2 separate regions of the Homo sapiens genome follow, and region 1 is linked to region 2. The links are contacts of gene promoters, found by promoter capture Hi-C in blood cells and fetal thymus (Javierre and others, 2016). All regions are on one chromosome and are shown on one strand. The core of a region is centred on a gene start or on the middle of the fragment in contact, and the rest is flanking DNA. Distances in the headings are between cores, read along the strand shown. Region 1 overlaps MED12L (mediator complex subunit 12L). Region 2 holds the start of CLRN1-AS1 (CLRN1 antisense RNA 1).

The links. Contacts are between HindIII fragments. The CHiCAGO score rates a contact against its expected background, and 5 or more counts as called.
Region 1: a fragment that was not itself captured here is called in contact with the fragment with the promoter of CLRN1-AS1 in region 2 in 1 of 17 cell types (endothelial precursors); the score reaches 5.6 in endothelial precursors.

Annotation. Positions count from the first base shown.
Region 1 is chr3:151,135,279-151,141,562 of GRCh38, forward strand. The region is part of intron 5 of MED12L (mediator complex subunit 12L); the gene reads left to right. Among named protein-coding and RNA genes, the nearest start is that of MED12L, 53 kb to the left of the region's middle. The HindIII fragment of the contact is 1,345 bases long and covers 1,196-2,540 here.
Region 2 is chr3:150,969,633-150,975,353 of GRCh38, forward strand. CLRN1-AS1 (CLRN1 antisense RNA 1) reads left to right here and starts at 3,046. Exons shown (of 6, transcript NR_024066.2): 1 at 3,046-3,461. CLRN1 (clarin 1) reads right to left here and starts at 3,095. Exons shown (of 3, transcript NM_174878.3): 1 at 2,824-3,095. The coding sequence starts at 3,076. The HindIII fragment of the contact is 6,166 bases long and covers 1,451-5,721 here.

The DNA of each region.
Region 1 (6,284 bases), core at 618-3,117, 160 kb after region 2:
AGGGCTGGGATTACAGGCGTGAGCTACCACACCTGGCCTGATAGTACTTTTTAAGAATGAAATGAATCGATACCTTTAAAGTGTTTAGAACAGTGACTGGCATACAGTAAATGTAGACCATTGATAATATGCGACAACTGCTACTTAGAACTGCTGTTACCAGCCAGTATTTATTGATTATCCTGTGTTACTCCGTTGGGAACTTTGCAGACTTTATCTGTAACCTTGCAATGTAGGTTTCATTATTCCATTTTGTGTATGAGGGACCTGAGTCTCAGAGAAGTTAAGTAACTTGCTGGCCTAGATGGAGTTGGATCCCTGCCCAGGCACCTGCCACTAGAGTGCCTGCTCCTCACTCCTCGCTGTGAGGTGATAGCTGCTGGTGGCCTGTGTGTGGTGTGGGTCTGGGCCACTGGAGGCAACAAGCATCTCTAGGTGGAAAGATGCTGGCAGGAAGCAGGCTGCGGGACTGGTGGCTCTGAGCAGCATCTGAGGAGTCAGAACTCTTGTTCTCATGGGTGCTATGGGGAACAGGAGGAGCAAAGCAAAGTCCAGGGTGCCATGGCAACTAGAGAAAGAAATATGAAACTGCTTGCAAGATGAGCAGCCTTAATTCTGCCTAGGAATTTTTGGGTATTCAATATGGTGAAAAGTGACAAGACATATCATGCGCATGAGGTCTTTTTTGGGGGAACAGATAGATTCAAAGAAGCTTAAAATGCTTCGTGGTTAAACTGCCTGGGGCACTGCTCTGTTTACCCCTAGTCATTTCCTCTGTGCCACCTGAGGTTTTGTGGGGATTTGAGTCAGATGAGAGACTTTTCTTGGTTGACTATACTCTTGTAACCACTATCCTTATCGCTCCCAAAATACAAAGAATAAACAGCCACCCTTCTTTCACAGTGGGTAATTAATTTGTGACATATTCACTGAGCCATTTGGACTGCAAAAATAAGTCCTGCTAAACTCATAATTGACAGTCTGGTTTCTTATCTAAGCCTACCAGCTTACTTGCAGTTTGGGTCTGTGAAGACATTGCATACTAACTTTTTTGATTCCAGGGACAAGCGTTTAGTTTTGTCAAGATTGCCTCCACATTTTCACAGTGTTCCTTCTATCTCATTTGTCATAAAGGCGATATCTGCCTTGTTTATGCTGAAAGTAATCCTGAAGATTGGACAGAAGTGCTTGTATAAGCTTAGTTTAAATTCACACTTTGCTTAGGCATGAAAAATAGGTTTTAACCGGTGAGGTAACTCTGGCTATCTGGTAAAAACCATTCTCCAATAGAAGGAATGGGGCTATTGGGGGTGAGACTTTGGTACCTGCAGCTATTCCATTCCTCAATAATCTTTTACCTAAAAGTTTTAACATCTGTTGATGAACTGAGCCTGGAATAGTTATTTCTTTGGGAATGGCAAGATGTAGGCATTCTTCAGTAAATGAGGGCTTTCTCTCATGTGATAAATTACAGTTCTTTCTAAAAAAGGCAGAATAAATGCTAAATTCTTTTCCTTTGATTTCAATTTTGGGAGTAGAAATTGTTGCATCTCCACAGTGGTGAAAAATGTTTCTCTATTTTTTTATTTATTAAAAAAGTTTAGGCTGTGTGCGGTGGCTCACACCTGTAATTCCAGCACTTTGGGAGGCTAAGGTGGGTGGATCACGAGGTCAGGAGATCAAGACCATCCTGGCCAACATGGTGAAACCCCATCTCTACTAAAAATACAAAAATTAACTGGGCATGGCGGCATGTGCCTGTAATCCCAGCTACTCAGGAGGCTGAGGCAGGAGAATCGCTTGAACCTGGGAGGCGGAGGTTGTAGTGAGCTGAGATCGCACCACTGCACTCCAGCCTGGTAACAGAGGTAGACTCCGTCTCAAAAAAAAAAAGAAAAAAAAAAAAAAGAACGAAAAAAAGTTTATTTTTGATCATTGTTATGGGCTCATGAAGTTTTATTTATTCTGTATTTTACAACCAAGTACACTTCTGTTAAATTTCGTGTTAAAATTGCCCCAAAATTGGCCAGAGACCCTTCTAGCTCCTTGTAAACTTTTGACATGACACCATTTGTCATGGGACATCTCCTTGCTTTCTGGCACAGAAAGATGTCCCAGGCGCTTGTAATTTTCCTGCCTCAGATCTCCAAAGAGCCTTTTGTCTAAGGAACTCTGCTTCTTTCTAGTGGGGAATGGTATTTAGAAAGCAAGATCTGGGTGCTAAAGGTGCTCATTGCTACTGGGATGTTGTGTCTAGGCCCCATCAGTGGGTAAATGGATGGAGACACACATATCTGCATGTGTGTGCATGTATGTGGGGGTTTTCCTATTTCCAGCTTATCTTTAGCATTTCCTATTTAACAAGAAAGAGTTTTTAGTAATTTCTTCAATTTTATGTTTATTTCATTTCTATTACATGAACAATCAAATGATTTCTAGTAAATGAACATGGTTACTTACCTGCTTCATCTTGCTACAAACATATTGGCTTGAGAATTATAATCTGATACATTAAAAGTATGTGAAATTTTTTTTTTTTAAGCTTTACACTGTGTTTCACTTAAAATGATTCTCTCTGCAGTAAGGTACACTGTTTCAGTTTGTTTTCCATTTTAGGGTTTGATTTTTTTCCCTTATGAACTAATTTTATATTTTGAATATGTAATACCTTGACATATTCAAGAGTCAAAACTATATAAAGATGTGCAGAAGTTTTGCTTCTATCTCCATCTTTTCACACAATTCCCTTTACCCCATCTTCAGATGTAACCATTTCTTACTAGTTTTTAATCTTCCAGTTTTTATTTTTGCAAAAAATATGCAAATACTTATATCTTCTTATTTCTTCTTTCTCCTTACATAGTAATTAGCATACTATATATACTGTTGGATACCTTGCCTTTTTTTTTAACTTAACAATATCCTAGTGATTACTTGATGTTCTCTGTTCCTTTTTGTGGCCTCTTAGTCCTTCATTGTGTGGATGTACCACAGTTTGGCCAGTCCCTTGTTTTTATTTCAAAAATGTTAAAAAAACTTTTTAGATTTACAGAGAAATTGAGAAGATAGTACAGAGTTCCCATGCATTCTCTCACCCTTGCAAACAGTTTCTCCCATTATTAACATTTTGCATTAATATGATACATTTATTATAATTAATGAACCAATATTGATTATTATAAAAGTCAGTCCATACTTTGGATTTCCTTAGTTTTAACCTAATGACCCTTTTCCATTTCAGGATCTTATTCAGGATATTATATTACATTTAGTTCTCATATCTCCCTAGGCTTCTCTTGGCTGTGACATTTTCTCAGTTTCAGTGATGTTTGACAGTTTTGAGGAGTACTAGTCAGGTATATTGTAGGGTTATCTTCTGTTGGAATTTGTCTGATATTTTTCTTATGGTTAGACCAGGGTTACAGAAGTCAAATGTCATTCTCATCATGTTACATCAAGGGTACATGCTATCACCATGACTTATGACTATTGATGTTAACCTTGATCACCTGGCTGAGGTAGCACTTACCAGGTTTTACAGTGTAAAGTTATTTCCCTCCCATCCCTTTCCACACTTTACTCTTTGGAAGGAAGTAATATGGACAGTCCACACTTAAGAAGTGGGGAGTTAACCATCCCCCTCCTTGAGGGCAGAGTATCTACTTATTTAAAATTCTTCTGCATGGGTGATTTGTCTCTTATCTACCTACCTACCTACCTACCTGCCTACCTACCTACTATTCTTTCATTCATTAATGTATGTATGTATTCAAGCATTTCTATCAGTATTGATTCATAGATGTTTACTTCATCTTTTGGTTTATAATACTCTATTTTGTTCCACCTTTGTCCATTGAGAGCTCTTTCAGCTGTGTCCTGTGTCCATTTGACATACCCATCTTAGTTTGCTTTTGTTTTTGTCTTTCTAAGTACTTTCTTCTTTTCTGGCACTAGAAGGTGCATTCCATGTTCATTGTGTATATTTTCTGTTCCAATCCTATAATGAGCCATTTCTCCAAGGAGCCCTGGTTGTCTTTAAAGGAGAGTGGTATTAGAAACCAAGAGTTGAGCACAAAGAGTGCTTATTGCTACTTGGGGTGTCACTGCTTCTAGGCCCTCTCAGTTGACAGATTAAGGAGATGCATGTGTGTGGACTAACTCATGTATGTACATATATTTATAAATATTTTTATATGTGATTGTGTTATCTCTTGAGCTAAACATGAATTCTTATTGATGCCTGGTAAGTGCATTTTTCCATTTTGTTAGATTCTGCCAAGTTTTCCTTCATAGTATTAACATGGACTAGACCTACTCAAGTTGTGAGAGGAGAATATTGGCGGGACAGGCATAGGAGAAATATGTAAGCAAGGTCTTGATGGGAGGTGAAAGAGAGCTGAATGTTCATCATCTTCCATGTAGGAAGCCAGTGGGTAATGCTTACAATCAGGAAGTAGGACTGTAAGCATGTTATTTAGAGGTAGAGGTAAATACAACAGATGAAAGAGTTGAAAATAATTTGCTTTTGGAGAATAATTGAGGAGTTTATGGACAATAGGCTGTTGTGTTCACAATAAATCATATAGAACTATTGGACTCTTTAAGACATGCACAAGAGGAGCTTTCATATAAACAAAAGTTAGCTAAGCCTAATCGCAGTCCCAAATTATTACTGCCTATTTTTTGTTGTCATTGGTACTTTTCCTGGAAGATATCTTGCTGTAAGAATGTTTTATGAAAAAGATTTGGAGGAAGTTTAAGGAATGCCATCTTACCCAGTAGCATTACAATTTAGTTATTCTTAGATAAATTGCAAGAGCTTACTTTTCTCTAAGCTAACTACTTGCTTTTTGGGACCTTAACTTAAATGAAGTAGATGTTCTTTGTAAAAATTGGAAGACCTCTAATATTTTTCCAGGTATGTAGCTTTTTAGTTAATTGAATATGCAAATTTTCCCTATTTACAGACCCTTTATTAACGTAAAATAACATAAAATTTACCATTGTAACCAACAATAAGTGTATGGTACAGCAGTATTAACTCAATGCACATTGTTGTACAACTGATTTGTAGAACTTTTTTCTCTTGCAAAACTGAAACTGCCCATTGAACAACTCCCCTTTCTCCCCCTCCACCAGCCTCTGGCTACTGCCATCATACTTTGCTGATTTACAGAAACTTTAAAAAGTTCTAATCAAGTTTAATATGCTGCACTGTAACTCTATGTGCCCGATTGTTGCCCTGTGGAAACATATTTCAGCTTTTCCAAAGTAAAAATATTATACCCTCTTCCAAGTTAGAATGCTGGTGTGTGGTTGTGGTGGTTGTATATTTATGTTTAATTAATTTTTTGGTGAAATCAAAGAAAATGTATGCCCATGATAGTTTTTGAATTTATTTATTTATTATTTATTTTTTGAGACAGAGTCTTGTTCTGTCGCCCAGGCTGGAGTGCAATGGCCTGGTCTTGGCTCATTGCAACCTCTGCCTCCCGGGTTCAAGTCATTCTCCTGCCTCAGCCTCCCGAGTAGCTGCGATTACAGGCACGTGCCTCCACACGCAGATAATTTTGTTTGTTTGTTTGTTTGTTTGTTTGTTTGTTTTTTGAGAGGGAGTCTCGCTCTGTTGCCCAGGCTGGAGTGCAGTGGCACGATCTCGGCTCACTGCAAACTCCGCATCCCAGGTTCACGCCATTCTCCTGCCTCAGCCTCCCGAGTAGCTGGGACTACAGGCACCCGCCACGACGCCCAGCTAAGTTTTTGTATTTTTAGTAGAGATGGGGTTTCACCATGTTAGCCATGATGGTCTCGATCTCCTGACCTTGTGATCCACCTGCCTTGGCCTCCCACAGTGCTGGGATTACAGGCGTGAGCCACCGTGCCTGGCGTTTTTTTTTTTGTTTTTTTTGTTTTTTTTTTTTTGTTAGTAGAGACGGGGTTTCACTGTGTTGGCCAGGCTGGTCTCGAAATCCTGACCTCGTGATCCACCTGCTTTGACCTCCAAAAGTGCTGGGATTACAGGCATGAGCCACTGGGCCTGGCCAGTTTTTGAATTTCTTAGAGAAATGCATTGAAAGAAATTACTGTATTTCACTTGAATAAGGAGTGATTTAGTTTAAAAAAGGTTTATCAAGAGTCTGTGCATTGGGGTAGATGCTGTGAAGATTTTTAACCAAATGGGGGCTGTGCTGTTTGTCTGTAAGGGGATACCATCTTTTTGTGGTTACAAGATACACACCTAAAACGGAGCATAATACATTAGTATCTAATTACCTGTAATCATA
Region 2 (5,721 bases), core at 1,796-4,295:
AGTATATTTTTATTGGCCAGTGCTGATATAAATGAAACATTTAGGTATGCAAAATAGTGTTTATCCACCTAACAGAACTGAAATATAAATTCCTATTAATTGATAATAACATGACAACACAAAGAAAACTTGCCATGAGACCAGCCTGGCCCACATGGTGAAACCCTGTCTTTACTAAAAATACAAAAAAAAAATTAGCTGGGCATGGTGGTGCACGCCTGTAGTCCCAGCTACTTGGGAGGCTGAGGCAGGAGAATCGCTTGAACCCAGGAGGGGTAGTTGCAGTGAGCCGAAAAAACTGGCCACGAAGTGATTGTTACCTTGATAAGTTACCTTTTCCATTCCTCTTACACTGGTAAGATTCTGTGAATTCAAATGTTTGCTTAATAACTTTCTAAAGGCACAATAAGAAAGAAGACATTCTGGGAAATGAATTGTGCACTAATTGTAAGTTGAGCTCTGGAAGAAACAGAAAAGAGTCATCCACCTGAGCTCTCTGGAGGTCCCTGCTTTTTGCTCCAAGGAAGCCACTACTGAGAAAGTAAGGTTAGATCTTTTATTCATTTATATGAACAGGGCTTATACATTTCTATCAGGAAGAATATCAGAGGATTCTCATCCAAGCAAACGTTGATGAAACATCATTGACAGGGTAATGACATTCTGAATGGAAAAAACGTGAACCACAAAGCTGCGTTGCAATGGGAGTGTAAACTTTGAGGGTGCAATGTGTCCCAAAGGCATGTTGATTAGAAAGTTTTAACACTGAGAGGGGTGTTTATTTAAATGAATATTATCCTCTTTGGGGAGTCCATTGGATCTATTTATTTTGGTTTTCCCAACTCTGTCTCATGCTGCATTGAAAAAGATACTTTTATGCTTAGGAAAAAAAAAAAAGCTCTACTGTAAGTATTCTTAGCTGGGCCTCACCAAAATGAATGAGATTTTTAACATGTATAGTATATACAGTACACTTAATATGTATAGTCTATTGTATATTGATGGAGCTGTCACTGCAGAATGAACAAGTAAATGGAAGATTTTCTTCACTAGGCTAGGGGGAGAATGTCAGGGGTATCTGGGAGCTAATGAAATTCTGTGAGATAAGTGAGGGTACTGTTTAAACCCCACCAGTTCTGCAAGTCCTCACAGAAAGCAAAAGGAGGGGCACCCAATTAGAACAACTTCATCCTTAGACAGGACAAGCATAGGACACAACCACAAAAATCATTCGCTAAACCCCAGAAGAATGTGGCTGTGTAAGGATTAAATGAGACAAAGCATATAAAGTGCTTAGTATGTAGTAAGTGTTCAGAAAACATCTTATTATTGTTTTGAAACATGTCCTATGGCATGAGTAAAGTTTATCTCCATTTCACTGTAGAAAATGTAAAGGCTCCAGAAAATTCACCAGTACCTTCTCCGCTTTTGTCTAAATTCATCTGTGAGAAGCTTTACTCACGCTTTGGCTGCCGGTGACTCACGGTTAAATCATCTCTCTCAACTTTTTTCCTTTTCGGTTTTTTAATACAGTTGCATATCACATGACATTCTGCTTTGTTTTCTTCCTTCCCCTTCCCCAGGAAAACTAAGCAACTCTAACAGCCCCATTACCTTAATGAATAAAAGCCATTCAGTGAAAAGAACTGGTATCCACTTCATCAATTAAAAAGCTAACAACCAATTCTTGGAAATTTTCTGGAGCCCTATGAAAATTCATATCACTTAGTAACCTATGTGAGCTGAAGGTTGGTGTCCAATGACTGCTAAGAAGATATAAGGAATGTTGCAGAAATATAAATAGACCAGCACTGAAATTTAATTAGGCACTGCATATGTTAATAATAAATTCAATTAATTTAGCCTTCTACCTATACTAGAAAGAAAAAAAAAACCTGGGCAAAATAATAATTCATTTTAAATGCTTCAGTTGGTAACCTCCTTTCCTGAAGAGTGATTTATGCAGTAATTTACTGACTGTGTCTTCATAAGGTTGTTCCAAACCAGCCCTTCTGAAATAATAATAACTTCTGAATGTGTGTTGTAAGAGATATAACAAATGACTTCCTATTAATTTTCATTTAATGAGTTGCCTATTCACATGGTAATTTTTAAAAATTCTCTTCTTAAGATAAACAGGTTATAAATACTGTGGATTACACTTCCATTTCACAAAAATCACAACAAGAAAATCTCTCTCATATTCTCTACATGATTTGCAGGTCAATCAGTTTAAAATGTTCTATACTAAATAGGCATCCATTTCTTTCCCAGTTAGCACAGCAGATCATTTTAAATTTCTATAGCCAAATGATTCCAAATTAGTTAAAAATGAAAACTGAATATTTAGCAGCAGGAAAGGTCTTAGCAGGAATAATGGGAGGGAGTGGGGAGCAGGAAACAAAATCATGAGAAAGGTGGCAACCTGGTTAAATACGGAGCCCATGACCTTGGTTCTTTTTATAAAGAACAAAAAGCATAAAGATCATTCTTTACAGCTTTCCTATTTCCCCAAGTTTACTTTTTTAAAAAGACTCCATAATTTTTTACATAAATATTAATACTTAAGCATCTTAATTGCCAATATTTCCAAAAACCTTAATTATGTAACAATGAATTAACTCTATATTATAATAAAAAGCAAGTATAAAATAATAAAAACTAGGAAGAAGAAATTGCTCAGAGTCATAGGTTTTTCATATGGTTCACACCGATTTAAAAAGTCCTGCAGTAAACACGGCAAAATTCTCAAATATAATTCCTCGCAACACTGGGAAGAGTCTGCCTAAAGCATTAAATAACTCAAATGCAATTGCTACTTACATGAGAACCGAAAGGGCCTTGCTCCCAACCCACACTGCCTCACACCCTCTCCGTGGAAAAGCCCGTACTGCATTTCACCCATAAACTTGTCCAGCTCCTGCCCTGAGGCATTGACGAGCAGAGCTCCCGTTTTGCAGAGGACAGTGGCTTTGATCCACAACGGTGTCCCCAAGGCTGTCACAACTCCGAGGGCACATGCAAAACTGAACACTCCGGCCATGCAAAAAATGATTTTCTTCTGTTGGCTTGGCATGATGAGAAACGGCTTCTGTGAGGGCGAGGTTCAAAAACAAGACCTTTGTGAGCAATGGGAAGGGACTGCCTCTTTGACTGCATTTATTACGGAAGCTGAACGGACAGCTCCCAGCTGAAAAGGCAACTTCACCATCGACGGTTCTCGCCAGGTTAAATGTCAGTAGATGAAGGCCTCATCATCACTCATACTTGGCTTTTCTCCTTTTCTGCTGCTTCTTCTCCCTAATTGGAAATCTTTGGACTAAGAATCTGTAAAACAAGTCTTTCAAACTGCCTTCAAGTATCTCCTCTGTGTCACTTGGTAACAAAGGTCGAAGATAACAGATGGAGTCCTCAGTGTAACTTGATAAATGTTTCCCTTCCTCAGCCTTTTGTCTGATTGGGTGAGTTGAAACTTTCAGAAACAGGCTTGAATCTGATGGTACATTTTCAGCAACTTGAGAAGTTCACTTATCGATGTTTTTATTTTTGTTTTTTGTTTGTTATTGTTTTTGGTGGTGGGGGAAGGAGCTTTAGCAGAGGTAGGGAGAACATATGTACCTGTATTGATAGTTGATGTCAAAAATTTTTAATTACAGCAGGATAAAAATATTAAACAGAATTTGGTCCTACACGAATATTAAGTGCTCTGGATCAACCATGGGTCCTTGTCCTTCCAACTTAATTTCTCCCAGATCCATGGTTTATACCTAATGTATCAATAGAGAATTTGATTCAAATTTTTCTTGGCATACAGAAATATGAAAATGCAGGAGCAGATATCTAGATTTCTAAATGCTTTCCTTTAACAGGCTTAGCTGCTTTAGGATAATAGCAAGGGAATGTGTTTCTGGGTCCAAGGAATACCAGGATCTGTAAAGATAAGGGCATATTGATGGAAAGAGGGATGGTGGTCAGATAGGTGACTCTATGGATTCATCATAAAAATGCACAGGTCTCAGCAAAGGTAATCTGTTTGGGAGACTAGAGACAGTTATGAGCAAAGATTAAGCAGCAGGTAGGTCTGGTTAAACGGTCAAGACCTGGAAACTAAAGTTCAGAATTCAGTAACAGCTTTTTAACTTTGCATTTCCAATGAGATTCCTCCTTCTACAGACACAGGACTGTGTGTGTGTGTGTGTGTGTGTGTGTGTGTGTGTGTGTGTGTGTGAAGTGTCTAGTGAATGTTTATTATATGCCATGTTATTGTCCTGAGCTCTGACCTACAAAGTTAATGTTTAGTAAGAACTTATGTCTGGCAACTTGTGAAGTATTCTACCTAAATTATCATATGTAATTCTCATAATTAGCATATAAAGTAATGAAGAAGAGGAAGAAGAAGAGGAGGGAGGAGGAGAAGAAGGAGGAGGAGGAGGAGAAAGGAAGAAGGAAGAAGAATAAGAAAGAAGAAAGAAGAAGAAAAAGCAATTATTCGTATCTTATATATAAGGGAATTGAGGCTCAGAGAGTTTAAGCAACTTGCTGAAGAGAGTAGTGGAGCTGGGATTCAAATCCAGGTCTTCTACTTCTGAGGTTGATGTTCTATTCCAAGCAAAGCCCCTGACCTTGAAAAGATGGCAAACATTTCAGTTTGGGTTGGGTTCGTCTAGGAGTAACAGGGGCAGACTAGCCCATTATTAGTTACACATATTGAGTGTTTGAAGAACACAGACATCAGTAAATAGAACTTTTTCAGTTGGCCAAAAGCACATGTGTATGCTAGCTTCTATTCTTTTGATCCACCTTTAAGCATGACAGCTTAGAGGAAATTAATAAATGAAGACTTATTTCACACCATTTTCAGCATAAATGAGTCTCTACATTATGCACACTTCGAAGGGAACTTTGAGGTATAGACTCGGAGTACTGGTAAACTTCTCTCACAGCTCGCCTCTCCTAGGAGTCGCAACAGCCAGTCTCGTTAAGGACAGACAACTAAGTATAGAACTCATTCTAGAATGCCAATGTACCTTCGGGGAGAAGAGGGGCAATATAAAACATGGCCACAGAAGAACTGGGCATATAGAAGATTCCAAAGAGGCACTTAAAATAAAGTTTACAATATTAGTAAGTCTTTTTTATTTTGTATAACTTAACACAGAATAAGCAACTCATCCCAGTTTATTTGGCCTTCCAATGAATTCACCACTGGATTTAGAATAATTGCTAGAACACAGAATAAGCAACTCATCTCAGTTTATTTGGCCCTCCAATGAATTCACCACTGGATTTAGAATAATCGCTATCATGGTCCACTAGCAAAACAAGGGGGTGCCAGTGCCCCTGATAAGTGGTTATTTGGGCATATATGTGCCACAGTCACCCTAGAAAACTTAGTTTAAGATGTCTAAGCAGAGCTGAGCTTACTAAATCAACATATTCTGTAATTGGAAGAGACAGAACATTTCCAAAGCCTGGGAGAAGAAATCACCTACAACTTAATCAATACTATTAATAACCTCTACTAAAGGATATGGCAAGAGAAGGATAGTTAGCATAGGACAGCGGTTTAATTAACCCAAACTCAGCCAAGTATATCTAAAGCTGTCCAAGGAGGAAAGCCTTGATTATGGGTGTAGAGAGCAATTAGATCACATCAGTTGCATCAGTTTGCATCAGTCTGTAGCGACATGTTCACTCGTCTGTAGAGACATGGGAAAAATA